Linked DNA regions of Homo sapiens: region 2 is linked to region 1. The links are contacts of gene promoters, found by promoter capture Hi-C in human tissues and cell types (Jung and others, 2019). All regions are on one chromosome and are shown on one strand. Each heading gives the region's core, a stretch centred on a gene start or on the middle of the fragment in contact. The rest is flanking DNA. Distances are from core to core; before and after follow the strand shown.

Region 1 (6,332 bases), core at 1,857-4,356:
ATGGTACTTAACTATCTAATGAGATGATAACTCTCTCCTACCTGTAGAAAATGTAGATGCCTTGTCTACTTCTGCTTATATACATGCTGAAACATACTGATGTCTGCTGTCTTCTTAATTTTACACTAATTTTTAAAGTAAAGATTGATTTGATAAAAAATATGCACTTGGAAAAATTATTCTGCTATTCCCACATTTCATGTTCATGTCTATTTACAGCTAACAAGACTAGCACGCAAATAGATATATGCTCCAAGATCTCGCTTCTTTTCATGTCTGGCTTCTCCCTGTTTACCCACAATTATTTTCATAATATTTTACTGTGATTCCACAAACCAGAGACAAATCTCTGAAGGGAATAGTGTTCCAAGGCATGGCCATCATTAGAAGACAATAAGCTTGTTTTCCTTCCAACATTCTTAGCTTTGTTGAAGGCTAAGTGGAAGAAATTAACATACTGCATGCCTTTCAATGAAAATTGTTTCTAATTATTTTGCTTCTCAAATTATTCCACCAGGCATTGATTAGACTTTTTAAATTCATTTCATATCTGTCACTCTCAGCTAACATTTGTAATTTTTTAATTGTTGTTAAAGAGAATCTATTAATTGAAATATAATTATCCTCTTTAATAAAAGTAAATAAAATTACTTGGGTAGCCAACATATTCAAGTAATCATCAATCTTGGTCAGAAATTAAAAGTAAGATGAGCATCTAAACTTGGCACTCAAAGACTGACCATCTGCACCTTTGAGGCAAAATAAAATTCAGTTTAGGAAAACCTTATGAAAATCAATGTTTTAATTATGCTATCAAGGGCTGTGGTAGGCAGAAACTTCTTTGCTCCACCCCCCAAAAATGTCCAGTTCTTAATCCTGAAAACCTGTGGAATCTTGTGTAACAAAGGGACTTCATAGATGTAATTAATGTTAACGACCGGGAGGTGGAGAGTGACCTCGGTTATCCTGGTGGGTCCAAGGTAGTCACAGGCATCTTTATAATCAGTGAAGGTCTCCCTGCTGTGCTTAGAGAGGGGGATGCTGGAAGAAGAGTGGTCAGAGAAGCAACATTGCTGACTCTAAAGACAGAGGGCAGGCCACGAGCCAAGGCATGCAGGAGGCCTCCAGAAGCTGGGGCAGGCAAGAGAATGGACTCAGCCCTGGAGCCTCCAGAAGGCATGCAGCCCTGCCCATTCCTTGCTTTTAGCCAGGTAAGATGTCTGTCAGCCTGATGAGAACTATGAAATAATGAATGTGCTTGTTTTTTTCACCACTAAATTTGTGCTTATTTGTTATAGCAGTGATAGAAAACTAAGACAAGGCTATATCTTGGCATGTCAGATTTTAAGTTATCTGCTATAGTGTAGAAAAGCCCAGAGAAGGAGCTGCAATTTGTCTCTTTGAAAAAAAAAAAAAAAAAAGGATCACCTTCTAGGGGATTAAACATTAATGGGCTGGGTGTTGTGGCTGACACCTGTAATCCTAGCACTTGGGGAGGCCGAGGCGCTGCTGCACTCCAGCCTGGGCAACATAGTGAGACCCTGTCTCCAGAAAAAAAAAAAAAAAAGAAAAAGAATTAAACGTTGACAGATTATTAAGTGAGGCACTGTGTGAGACCTAGCTTGGGTTTGCGCCTATAGATATTTAAAAGTTGATCCAGGTTTTCACTTGAAAGCAGAACTACTGCCTTAAATTCCCACTTCACAAAAATAAATCATGGATTGAGGGAAAAATTTACTTGTTTGCTTTATAAAAAGAGATATCGATCTCTTCATAAGTTATATATGTTTTACAAGGTTGCACTGTTTGAACTGTAAGTGTGAATGGTTGCTAACACTCCAGAAACCAAGAGGTACATTTTAACTGGAAAAATTTTCTTCCTGTATCTTACAAATTAATTGAAGTTTGTCTACGCTTGAAAATATGTCAAAAGTATTATGTAGCTTTACCACAGTTTTATCTAACTTCTAGAAGAATTTAAATTCATATAAAGATAAAGAGTAACATACCAATAGAGTTTAGAGAGTTTTCAGATTTGCTCAGAAGAATGCTCCTTTGAAAACCTATGAAGTAGATTTTACCCAATGTATATCTGGATCTAAAAATTAAAGAAAATATCAGTCGTGTTCAGATTCCTTTATACCCTGCAGAAGAGAGAAAGAATAAGCAACATCAATGGAGCATATAACATGTATGGTTTAGCACTTTCATATTTTTAATCTTAACTATTCAGCCAAATACGTCTTATTTTTTTATTTTTATAGATGAAGATATTGAGGTTTGCATTTTTTTTTTATAAATTGCTCAGTCATACAGTTGGTAAATAGCTGACAGGAGAGTTCACTCCAGGTCTTACTGGCTCTCAAACCTTTGCTTTTTAAAAATCTCCAAACTAGCGCCTCTCCCTTTTAACTGCAAAATAAGCACAAAGTTATCCCAGTTCTACACAGTGCTAAACAAATTCCTGTGAGCAAACAATTAGCACAGGCAGATGGAGTGAGGGGGAGGTGGTTTATAACAATGGAAAGCTGTCTGCCTGCTGTGGATTAAAGATTCAAACTCTTTGATCCTCCTCCCAGGGATAGGTGAGGGCCTATGTCTCCTCCTCATTAACATGAGTGATCCTTGGCTAGGTTCTCCTTTGACTGACAGAATATGGGAGAAAGTAAGGCTGAACCATATACTGGGCTCAGGCTTCCAACCCTGACATGTTCCACTTCCTGTCTCCAGGAACATTCACCCTGGGAGCTCTGTGCTGCCATGCAAATGTCACATTGCACTGAGGCCGCCATGCTGTAAAAAACCCCAAGCTACCTACCTGAAAAGCTGGAGAGAATCAGCACCCATCAGCTTTTCCAGCATTTTGGGTCCTCCCAGCTAAATCATCGGCATTGTGAAGCAGAGATGAGACCTCCTGCCATGCCCTTTCCAAATCCTGGACCAACAGAATCATCATATACACTAGTAAGCTTTTACTTTAAGCCACTAATTTGGGGTGTAGCTCTTTTGCAGCAAAAGATCATCAGAACACTGCCATGCAGGAGCTGATAAACTTGCTCACTGTTATGTATGTATCCAATGACTACTCACACACACATTACTTGCTTCACTCTACTTTCTGGCTTTCCATTCAGCAAATTTTAAGAAATGAAAATGTTATTCGTGGGAAATTAACTCAAGATCAATATTGTTGTAGTTAATCTCTTTGTAAATGGTAAAATATTAAATTATTGTGAGTCATTTTTATTTAAAGAAGTTTGGTTCTTTAAATGAAAGAAGTTTGGGTCTTTTGTGGATACTCTGCATATAGACATTCTAGACATGAAAGAATGTTGAAGACAAAGAATGTTGAAGAAATATAGACATGAAAGACTGTTGAAGTTTGGTTTTTTGTGGATACTCTGCATATAGACATTCTAGACTGGAGTGATACATCTTGTTCAGGTTTCTATGTTTTTAAAATGATAACTTGACACGCCTACCAATGCCAATTTTTAGGATATATATTTGTATATCTGTGTGAACTAAGGAAAATTCAGGAATGATTAAACCTACATATTTTGCCAGGAGAGACTGGATAATGTAAGTCTTTATATTTTTCACAACTTCAAGTTTATAGCATCCAAATGAGCAATTGCTGACATACCTAGGGGATTTCTCTGCAGGTTCAAGTCTGATCTGGCCTGAGGGCAACACTCTTACTGAGTGTGTTCCTAGGCACTCCTTGGCAGTTGGCTCCAGGCCACAATAAAGAGCCCTGATGATTCTCTGAGCAGGCCCAACTTCCATTCACATTCATGGGAATATGAGGATGACTTGTGATCTTCAGGACTTAGATAGACTCTTTCAGTTGGTGTAGGGTAAGCTCAGCTCATCTCTAGAGACTTCCCACAGTGGAGCTCATGCATGACTCTGTGCAGGTGGCACAGGACAGCCAGAGACAGGCACCTAAGGAGTGCACTACCAGCAGGTGGACTCTCCACTGAGGGAGGTAGACAAGGGAGAAAGCCAGGTGTCCACATGGAGCAGGCCTTACTCAGGGAGACTGAGATTTTGCTCTACACATCATAAAACGTGGAGGTCATTAATGGAATTTTTCACAGGACATGACTGCCATAGCCATGATAGGGTCCCTGGCTAATCTTTCAATTATGATAGCATCATAAGATAATTTTGAATATGAGGAGAGAAGAATAACTCTAGAACTGCAATATCCAATATGGTAACCCCTAGCAACCTAAGGCTACTTAAACTAATTAAAATTAAAACTTTAGTTCCTCAGTGCCACTAGCCATATTTCAAGTACTCAATAACCACACACACTTGGCTACCATGTTGGACAGCACTGACATAGACCATTTCCATTACTGCAGAAAGTCCTCCTATTTGACAGTCCACCTCTGGAACCAATCCGGAGTCTTTAGGGACCTAAAAGACTGAGGTGCTAAATCTCAGAGCAGTACTCTGCTTAATGCTTAGTTAAAAGACTTGCTAATCTATATAGTTGATCTAGAGAACTTTAAAGGCAGCTAGTTCGTAGCAACTATGTTGCTGGACCTTGAAACTGTATGTCAGGAACTTGGTGTTCTAGTGGTGACTTCTCTTTTATCTACCATGTTCACACTTTTCCTACCACTCATTTATCCATTCAGAAAGTATTTCAGAAGTCCCTATGATTTACCAGGTGCTATTTCAGACACTGAGGCACTGTGGGGAACAAAACAAACAAAGTCTCCTTTCTCAGGGATCTCACATTCCATGTGGTGATGCAGACTGTAAAAATTCACACACAGAAGATACTTTCATACAGTAGGAAGTTTTATGAAGAATATTTCAAAAGGGGTGTGGGGTGGGAGAGGTTGATGTTCAGGTGTTTGCTTGAGAATGAACTGTTCATACAAAGAATCAATAATTCATTTGTTCCACAAATATTTATTGAGTACCTGTTATTAGCAGGCTACTTTATTAGGTTGCCAGAGCAGGGTTTTCTTAGCACAATTAAAACACAATAACATTTGTTAGAAATTCAAAGACCCATGTCCACTCTTGCATAATGAATCAGAGTCTCGAGGTTATGGTCCAGAGACTGGTGTATTTAAAAATCACTGAAGTAATTTTAAGGTATAGCCAGAATAGAGAGGACACCGGCATTCTTCCTGAAACTCAACACACTAGACAATGAGAAATCATTAAAATGAAGTAAATATTTTGATTGAGATTGTTTTGGCTTCAAAATTAATAATAGCTTGGAGAGGAAAGAAGGTAAATTATAAAAGACAATTAAGAATCTCTTAAATGTATTTAGATAATAGTTACAGAGGGACAAAAATGAGTAGGATCTGTGATAACAGAAAGAATAAAAATAAACAAAAGGACTTAAAAAAGTAAGAATAAGAAAGAAGTCAACAGTAACCCAGAAATTTTCAACCTCATGTCTAAGAGAATGATGATGCTATTTAGCAATATATCCAAACCAAAAATACTACGAGAAGTAGGTTGTGTTCACTTGTGATGTTGTAAATTTATAATTACTTTTTCTTTATTTTGGATGCATGCTTTTCCTTTTTCTGAAGTTCTGAGACATACAAAAACAATAAAGAAAAACATGATTTTATGCCAGAAAATAAGATAGGAACAATTCCTCATGCTCAATATAATTTTAGCCTCCCACATAATCCAAAATATATGTGCAGCAAATTGTGGGAGTTTCGAAATTAGATCCAACTTCTTATTACAGTTAAAGATAAAAAGAAAACAAGGCTTTGTCTTTTTTAGGATCTTTTTTGGAACTTGCAGTATAAAAATACTCTTTCAAAAAACATAACTCAACATCAAAGTCCAATAAAACAGTAAACTGGACTAAATATATTCGTATATTAGCTTGACCTAAGTCTGGGAATTGAGCCAGACTTTTCAAATTATACTATCATTATTTACAGAAAAAGGAAATGTTAACTAACATTATTAAATAAAAGCACATATACACATGCATAACAGGAAACAAAATGAATGTTAATGTTAACAAATGTTGAAGATGTGTGTGTGTGTGTGTGTGTATGTGTGTGTATACAAAGCAGATAAGATATTCTCTTGAGCATGATTGGATTGGAAATAGTAGCTATGCCAGGGGAAATTTTATGCAATCCCCTTGGCTGTGGGCTACACATTTATTGTGTTATACAAATATGCCAAAAAAAATGCCATTTACACAGTTGCCTAAAACAAAATTGAAATTATACATTAGTGTTTAAAGTTTTTTTTTTTCTTTCGCCTCCTTTTCTTAATGAATGGCAGATAATGAAATTTAGGAGTTTGCAAAAACAAACGTAGTT
Region 2 (6,332 bases), core at 2,329-4,828, 630 kb before region 1:
GGTTCCCAGTTTTGCTTTTTCAACGAAAGGGAACAAGTCATTTAAAAAGATAAGCACTGAGCCAGGGTTAAGGGAGAGCACAAAAATAAGATCATTAGAAATTGCAATTGAAGCCAAGTCTAACTTCGTGTCCAAAGATCAGGATTCTTGGCCTTTGTCACCACTGCTGAGTTCTCCTTCTTAAGGGCCCAGTTTGCTTTTTATAAGCTTCAAGTGCATTGTCCTATTTGAAAGATATCTTCTGCTTAGACAAAAAGAATTCTAACTTTTATTCCTTCGTTATCACACGTCCTCGGCCCCTGATTTGATCTCGGAGCAGGGCTCCAGGCAAACAGTGCCCCCTGAACTCTCGCCTCGGCTTCCCCGGCCTCCTCCCTGAACTCTCGCCTCGGCTTCCCCAGCCTCCTCTCCTCTTTGCAGTCTGGTTGCCTGACGCACGCAGCGCATGCTTGCTTGTCACAGACTGCTAGAATGCAAAACGATGAGAATTAATGCTGTTATTAAAGGATTTTTAAATTAAATGTGCAGTTTAGAGCCAGATGCTGCCTTCTTAAAGGAAGAGAAGTTTAAGTTAAAAAATCTGACAGATATTCGTTCCATCTAGCGTGGCAGAATTTATGGTAGATTACCGTCTTTGATTTCTGTGGCCTGGGGTTGTCAGGTCCACTTGCAAATGCGCTGTGGGAAAGAGTTGCACTTTTGTAATTTGAAAACATATGGGACATATGGTAAATATTACACCCATAACTGTTACGAAGTTCTGTTTCCTTAAAGGACCTTTCTTTTTTGCCTGTACCCTCCAGGGGATTACTTGCAAGAACCCCATTATCTTTCTACCTCTATTTTCCCCTAAAGTCGATTTGCTTTATTCTGATGCTTTAGAATCCCAGTGAAAAAATCTGGAAATCGAGTGTTTATTTTTCTCCAGGCATGACAATACAATATTCTACAACCTCTGGTCTCCTCTTGAGCTAATGTTTATTTTACTTTTCATCTTTGTGTTCAAAGATACAGGCTTTTAAAAAATGAGTTTGTATGTTTTCTCTTTGAAGCCATCCTCCCCCTATTATATCTGTAAGCGGGTCAATTAAATAGGTATTGACAAGTTATTACCCTAGGCAAAACCAAAAACCAACCAAGTCTCAGGATTTAAGAAATGAGATTATAATGTGCAAAATGATAAAGGTTATCATACAGTGCAAAGTCCTATGGGAATGCAAAGGAATGAGAAATCATGTCTGATTAGAATGATCAAGAACAACTTTATTGCAGAAGACACATTTGGAATAAGCCTATTACGGATGTTGTAAGAGGCAATATGGATAACTTAGGGCTCCTGCTGGGCATGGCTGTGAGAGGAATGTGTTTGTAGGCTGCTATGTGGCATCTCCCATTGTGAGACAGCCTCCTGGATTCCAAAGTTGGAATGGTCCAGAGTGGACAATGATGAGCTGGTGGTCCCCTCAAAGATATACTCACCAGTACGTAAGTCACCTATGAATGGTGCAAGGACATAGCACGGTGTGTGGTCATTTCTCCAGATTCTCTGAATTAGGTGAGGCAGGGGGATGGCAGGAATGTGCCTTTTTAAAAGCTCACTGGTTGGCTCTACTGATCAGGTTTGAGAACCACTAGAACTAAAGTACACCATAATTAGGAGAGCTAACTATGTCCCTAACTGTAAGTTCAGGGCTATACCCCAACAGAGTAGTTCAACCCAGCAGTGAGCTAACACATTTGCCTGTTTTATCCAATCCCCTTTTTACATTGAGTCAGGGTAATTTTTCTAAAATGCCAAACAGACTCATAAAATACTTCAGAGGCTCCCCACTGTCCCTAGGAAAATGCCTAATTGTTAACATGAACCACATGATGCTCTTTGATCAGATTCTTGCCCACTTTCTCATCTCATCTCTTCCCATTCCTCTTTTTACATTTCCTGCTCTAAACGTCCTTTTCCTCTCATCTCTAAGCCTTCTCCCATGGCTGACCTTTCAGGGGGCCTGCTCATTCCTATCTGCCACCCGGCAGTACTCTTCCCCCAGGTCTCCCTAGAAACCGCTTCCTGTACAAGGACCTCCCTAATACCTCCATCTACCCGGAAGCCTGCCTTTTATGATCTCAGAGCCATTTCTCTACTTTGAAATAATTGCTTATTAGTCTGTTACCTTCTAGAGAATAAACTTTGTGAAAACAAGAGTCAACTCACCTTCCTCAATCTTGCCCTTCTAGGAGCAAGAACATTCATCTCTCGGTATTCATGAAGTATTGGTTCAACTTCTCTCAGATACCGAAATTCAAGAATGCCCAAGTTCCTGATATAAGGTCTCAGAGTATTTGCATATAACCTATGTACATCCACCCATCTACTTTAAATTGCCTCTAGGTTACTTATAATGCCAACTACAATGTAAATGCATATTATACTCTATTTCTTAGGGGAAAATGACAAGAAAAAAAAAACTGTACATGTTCAGTGCAGACACATTTTTTCCCCAAATATTTTAGATCTGAAGTTGATTGAAGCCACAGATGTGGAACCCACAGATACTGAGGGCCGACTGTGCTGTGTCAACGGAGTGTGCTCACCATAAGCATTGTCGAAAGGATGATTAAATGAAAAAAATAAATGAATAAGGAAATTGAAAACATATTTTTCTCGAGGTCCTACAACAAACAAAAACTGAGGAACAAATTTATAAACAAACAACCAAAAAAGAGACTGACAGAATTCTTATGTTTTTGCTGAAATATAATCTAATTTCTAAGTAGAATTTTACTTTACAATTTGCTGGTGATAACTAAATTATATCACAGTACATTATCTTCAAACGGTTTTTATTGCTGTTGCTATAACTTCTTTTAAGTGTATCCCTCTGATTCAAAAGGCTAGCTCTGAAAAAGGTAAAATGCTTCAAGGACGATTCTAATTCTAATTTTTCAGATCTAGTATACTTTTTAATCTGCATTTGGAAATTATTTAGTTAACATACTAGCAGATAATTGAGAAAATGTGTTAAAAGCTGAAATAGCATACTAGTTCAAACATGTTATATGCCTTGTAACAAAAAGTATTTAAAATAAATTTGCTTCCTGAATTTTCTAGAATTCTGATGTAAGAGTGAGACATGCTCTCCCTGATATTTTAGGAACTTTCTAAGTGGCTCTAACTTCTTAAATTTTTGTAGTCATTCTACCAGTGTTAAGTGACGTTAGAAATTTTGTTTGCATTTACATTTCTAGTAACTGTAAAAATCCTCCCAGTTCCACGACTTTTAACCTAGGATCCAATGACCACACTCCTGTCCCCCGCCACCATCAATAGATTTTCAGGGAGGAGAGAGTGTTTACAAACCTTCTGCAGTTGCATGTAAACCTATGTGGATTTACTTATGTGCCTTTGACTGTGGTGAGGGGTAAGCTTTATGAGATTTTCAAGGGGCACTGTCTGAAAGTGTCCTGAGATGTTTCAGGAACCTGGATAGCTGAGTCCCAATTTGCACCTAATTTATCGTAAAACATCTGACCACAAAGTAAATATGTGTCACCAGGAAATAGGTACCATAAAAGTGACTAAGCCTGCAAAGAAAAGTACAGAGAGTACAGGTTTTATTGCTCCAAATCGCTTGAGGTCTCAGAAGGACAAGTGAATCTGGATTGGCACAGTAGACACAGACATTTAACAAGATTCTCCACCAAACTCTTAAGTACGGCATCTTGAGAAAAACCCTTTGGTGGTGCTGTACGTGATAAAAAACAAAGTTAAGACACAGATCTCTGCTCTCAAGGAGTCTAAGTATATATATATATGTGTGTGTGTATGTGTGTGATGTATACATATACATATACATATTCACACATATACACACATAAGCATGTGTGCCCTCTCACACACACATATCATTTTTAAAAAGATTGGTAGAGATTCACTTCAAATGGTCATGGGAGCATTCGGGAGAAAAGAAGGGAAGATTGATTACAACCGCGAGATTTGGAAGGGTTTCTGGAAAAGCTGGGGTTTAAGCTTATTCTTCAATAGACAAACTGAGAAAGAATGAAAAAGGGAGAGGCACTGCAGACAAAAGAGATTTGTTATAAGTGGAAGGAGAAGAGCACAGTCTTTGGGACAGGCAGTGGAGGATTACAGAGGACCTAAGTGTTTCTTTCCAGGGAGTGGAGTCTAATGGAGAACAATCGCGGAAGGATAGGTAGAAGCCAGATAAATATTTGAGTACTGGGCTGGGCATTTGTACTTTACTCCATATGTGGTCGGAAGTCACTGAAACTGAGTCTAACATAATATGATCAGAGTCTTGTTTGGAAACATGGTTTTGACAGCAGTATGTCAGATGCATCAGAGGAGGAAAAGACTAGAACAATCTATAATACAGAAGACTACATTGAAGTCCTCGAGTGGGGCAAGATGGCGAGCTTTATGAGAGTATATCCACGGAGCAGAAAGAGAGGGGGCAGACTTCCTTAGAGGGGTTTGCCAAGATTCCATGTATGATTGGATGTGCGTGTAAAATAAAAAGGTAAATTAAAGATCATTGCCAATTTTTAACTTTAGTTTCCTGGAGAGTTCATGATGCCATTAATTAAAGGGTGGAATAGAGTTAATGTGTAAATTTTTTTTTTTTTGAGAGGAGGCGCTGTGTTCTATTTTGAGCATGCTTTTAGGATTCCTGTGGAAAGGTGTCATCCACAGTTGGAAACGTGAGTGTGGGAAGATGAGGGCTTGCAATATGGCTTGCAACATGGGCAGGGAAGTTGTTTGCAAACTGGTGATAGTAGAGTCATAGAACGCACAAAATTTTAAAAGATGACTAAAAAAAGAAGGAGACTAGGCCAGAGGGTGTCAAATACTGCAGAGGTTCACCTGGGTGAGAAGGGAAGGCTGGCCAGTGTGTTAGATGATTCGGAAGGCATTGGTTTACTTTACTGGAAAAGTTCCAGTAGAATTGCAAGCCAAAATACAGACTTCATGGAATTTAGCGATGATGAAGAAGTCAGCAAGTAAAGAGAGTGAATAAGTCTTTTAAAATTTTAGTTGTAAAGGGAAGAACAGTAACACAGAGACCAGTGAGATTAGGTGTGTGTCGTTCAGGGCTAGGATAAAGGAGATTTTGAACTTGTCTTAGGTTGACAGGAAAAAGTCAGCAAGGCCGGGCGCAGTGGCTCATGCCTGTAATCCCAGCACATTGAGAGGCTGAGGCGGGCAAACCATTTGAGGTCAGGAGTTCAAGACCAGCCTGGCCAACATGGTGAAACCCCGTTTCTATTAAAAATACAAAAAAATTAGCTGGGTGTGGTGGTGTGCACCTGTAATCCCAACTACTCGGGAGGCTGAGGCAGGAGAATTGCTTGAACACAGGAGGCAGAGGTTGCAGTGAGCCGAGACGGGGCCACTGCACTCCAGCCTGGGTGACAGAGTGAGAATCTGTCTTAAAAAAAAAAAAAAAAAAGGCAGCGGAGGAGAAACTGGAGATAGGAGAAAAGAGATAGGAAAATTGATGAAGAAAGATCGTAGGGAAATATGTAAGCACTCTGAAAAAAATGGATACAAATAGATGAAGAACAAGAAAAACCTGTGAACTTTTCCAAGTTGTGGAGACTTATTTCAAAAAGTCAAGGGCCAAGACTCATTGTATATCTCTGTGCCTCTAGTAGAAGAAAATTGTGACTGAACTAACAATAAGCAACTTCGTGGCAAGACAATAGCTTGTTTAAATTGGACATATGTTACCACATCAAATTTTGTTGAGTGCAAAGAGAAATCATATCAAGTTGGTTTTCATTAACACAGGGCATCTACTTAGTACACTTCTTCATGTTTGTGTTTGATGACTAGGCCACAAAGCATCCTACAGATTAAAAAAAAAATTGAATATAAAGTATTTATTCAGTCTCAAAATAAAACTCTTATCATGGCATTGAACCAACATTGTATTGGTTCCATAAACAAATGTCATTGAATTTAACACAGTAGTTGCACAGATTAGATTTGTGTGCTCCACTGTGGGCACTGATGGTTTTTTTGAAAAAGGCAACAGGCCGGGCGCAGTGGCTCACGCCTGTAATCCCAGCACTTTGGGAGGCCAGGGCTGGCGGATCACGAGGTCAGGAGTTTCAGACCAGCCTGGCCAACATGGTGAAACCCTGTCTCTACTAAAAACACAAAAATCAGCCGGGCTTGGTGGAGGGTGCCTGTAATCCCAACTACTCAGGAGGCTGAGGCAGGAGAATCACTTGAACCCAGGAGGCAGAGGTTCCAGTGAGCTGAGATTGCACCACTGCACTCCATCCTGGGCAACAGAGCAAGACTGCGTGTC

What was found. The method cuts DNA at HindIII sites, captures the fragments that hold promoters and counts their contacts. A contact is called where the count stands out against the background at its distance.
Region 2: a contact is called between a fragment that was not itself captured here and the fragment with the promoter of DAOA in region 1, in 2 of the 25 tissues and cell types used here (dorsolateral prefrontal cortex and mesenchymal stem cells).

The regions. Positions count from the first base shown.
Region 1 is chr13:105,462,819-105,469,150 of GRCh38, reverse strand. It overlaps DAOA (D-amino acid oxidase activator), which reads right to left and starts at 3,106. Exons shown (of 6, transcript NM_172370.5): 1 at 3,091-3,106; 2 at 2,819-2,935; 3 at 2,010-2,098. The coding sequence starts at 2,862. DAOA-AS1 (DAOA antisense RNA 1) reads left to right here. Exons shown (of 7, transcript NR_040247.1): 5 at 2,731-2,964. The HindIII fragment of the contact is 13,308 bases long and covers 1,685-6,332 here.
Region 2 is chr13:106,094,015-106,100,346 of GRCh38, reverse strand. No RefSeq gene overlaps it. Among named protein-coding and RNA genes, the nearest start is that of LINC00460, 280 kb to the left of the region's middle. RefSeq lists an enhancer at 1-53. The HindIII fragment of the contact is 3,527 bases long and covers 1,815-5,341 here.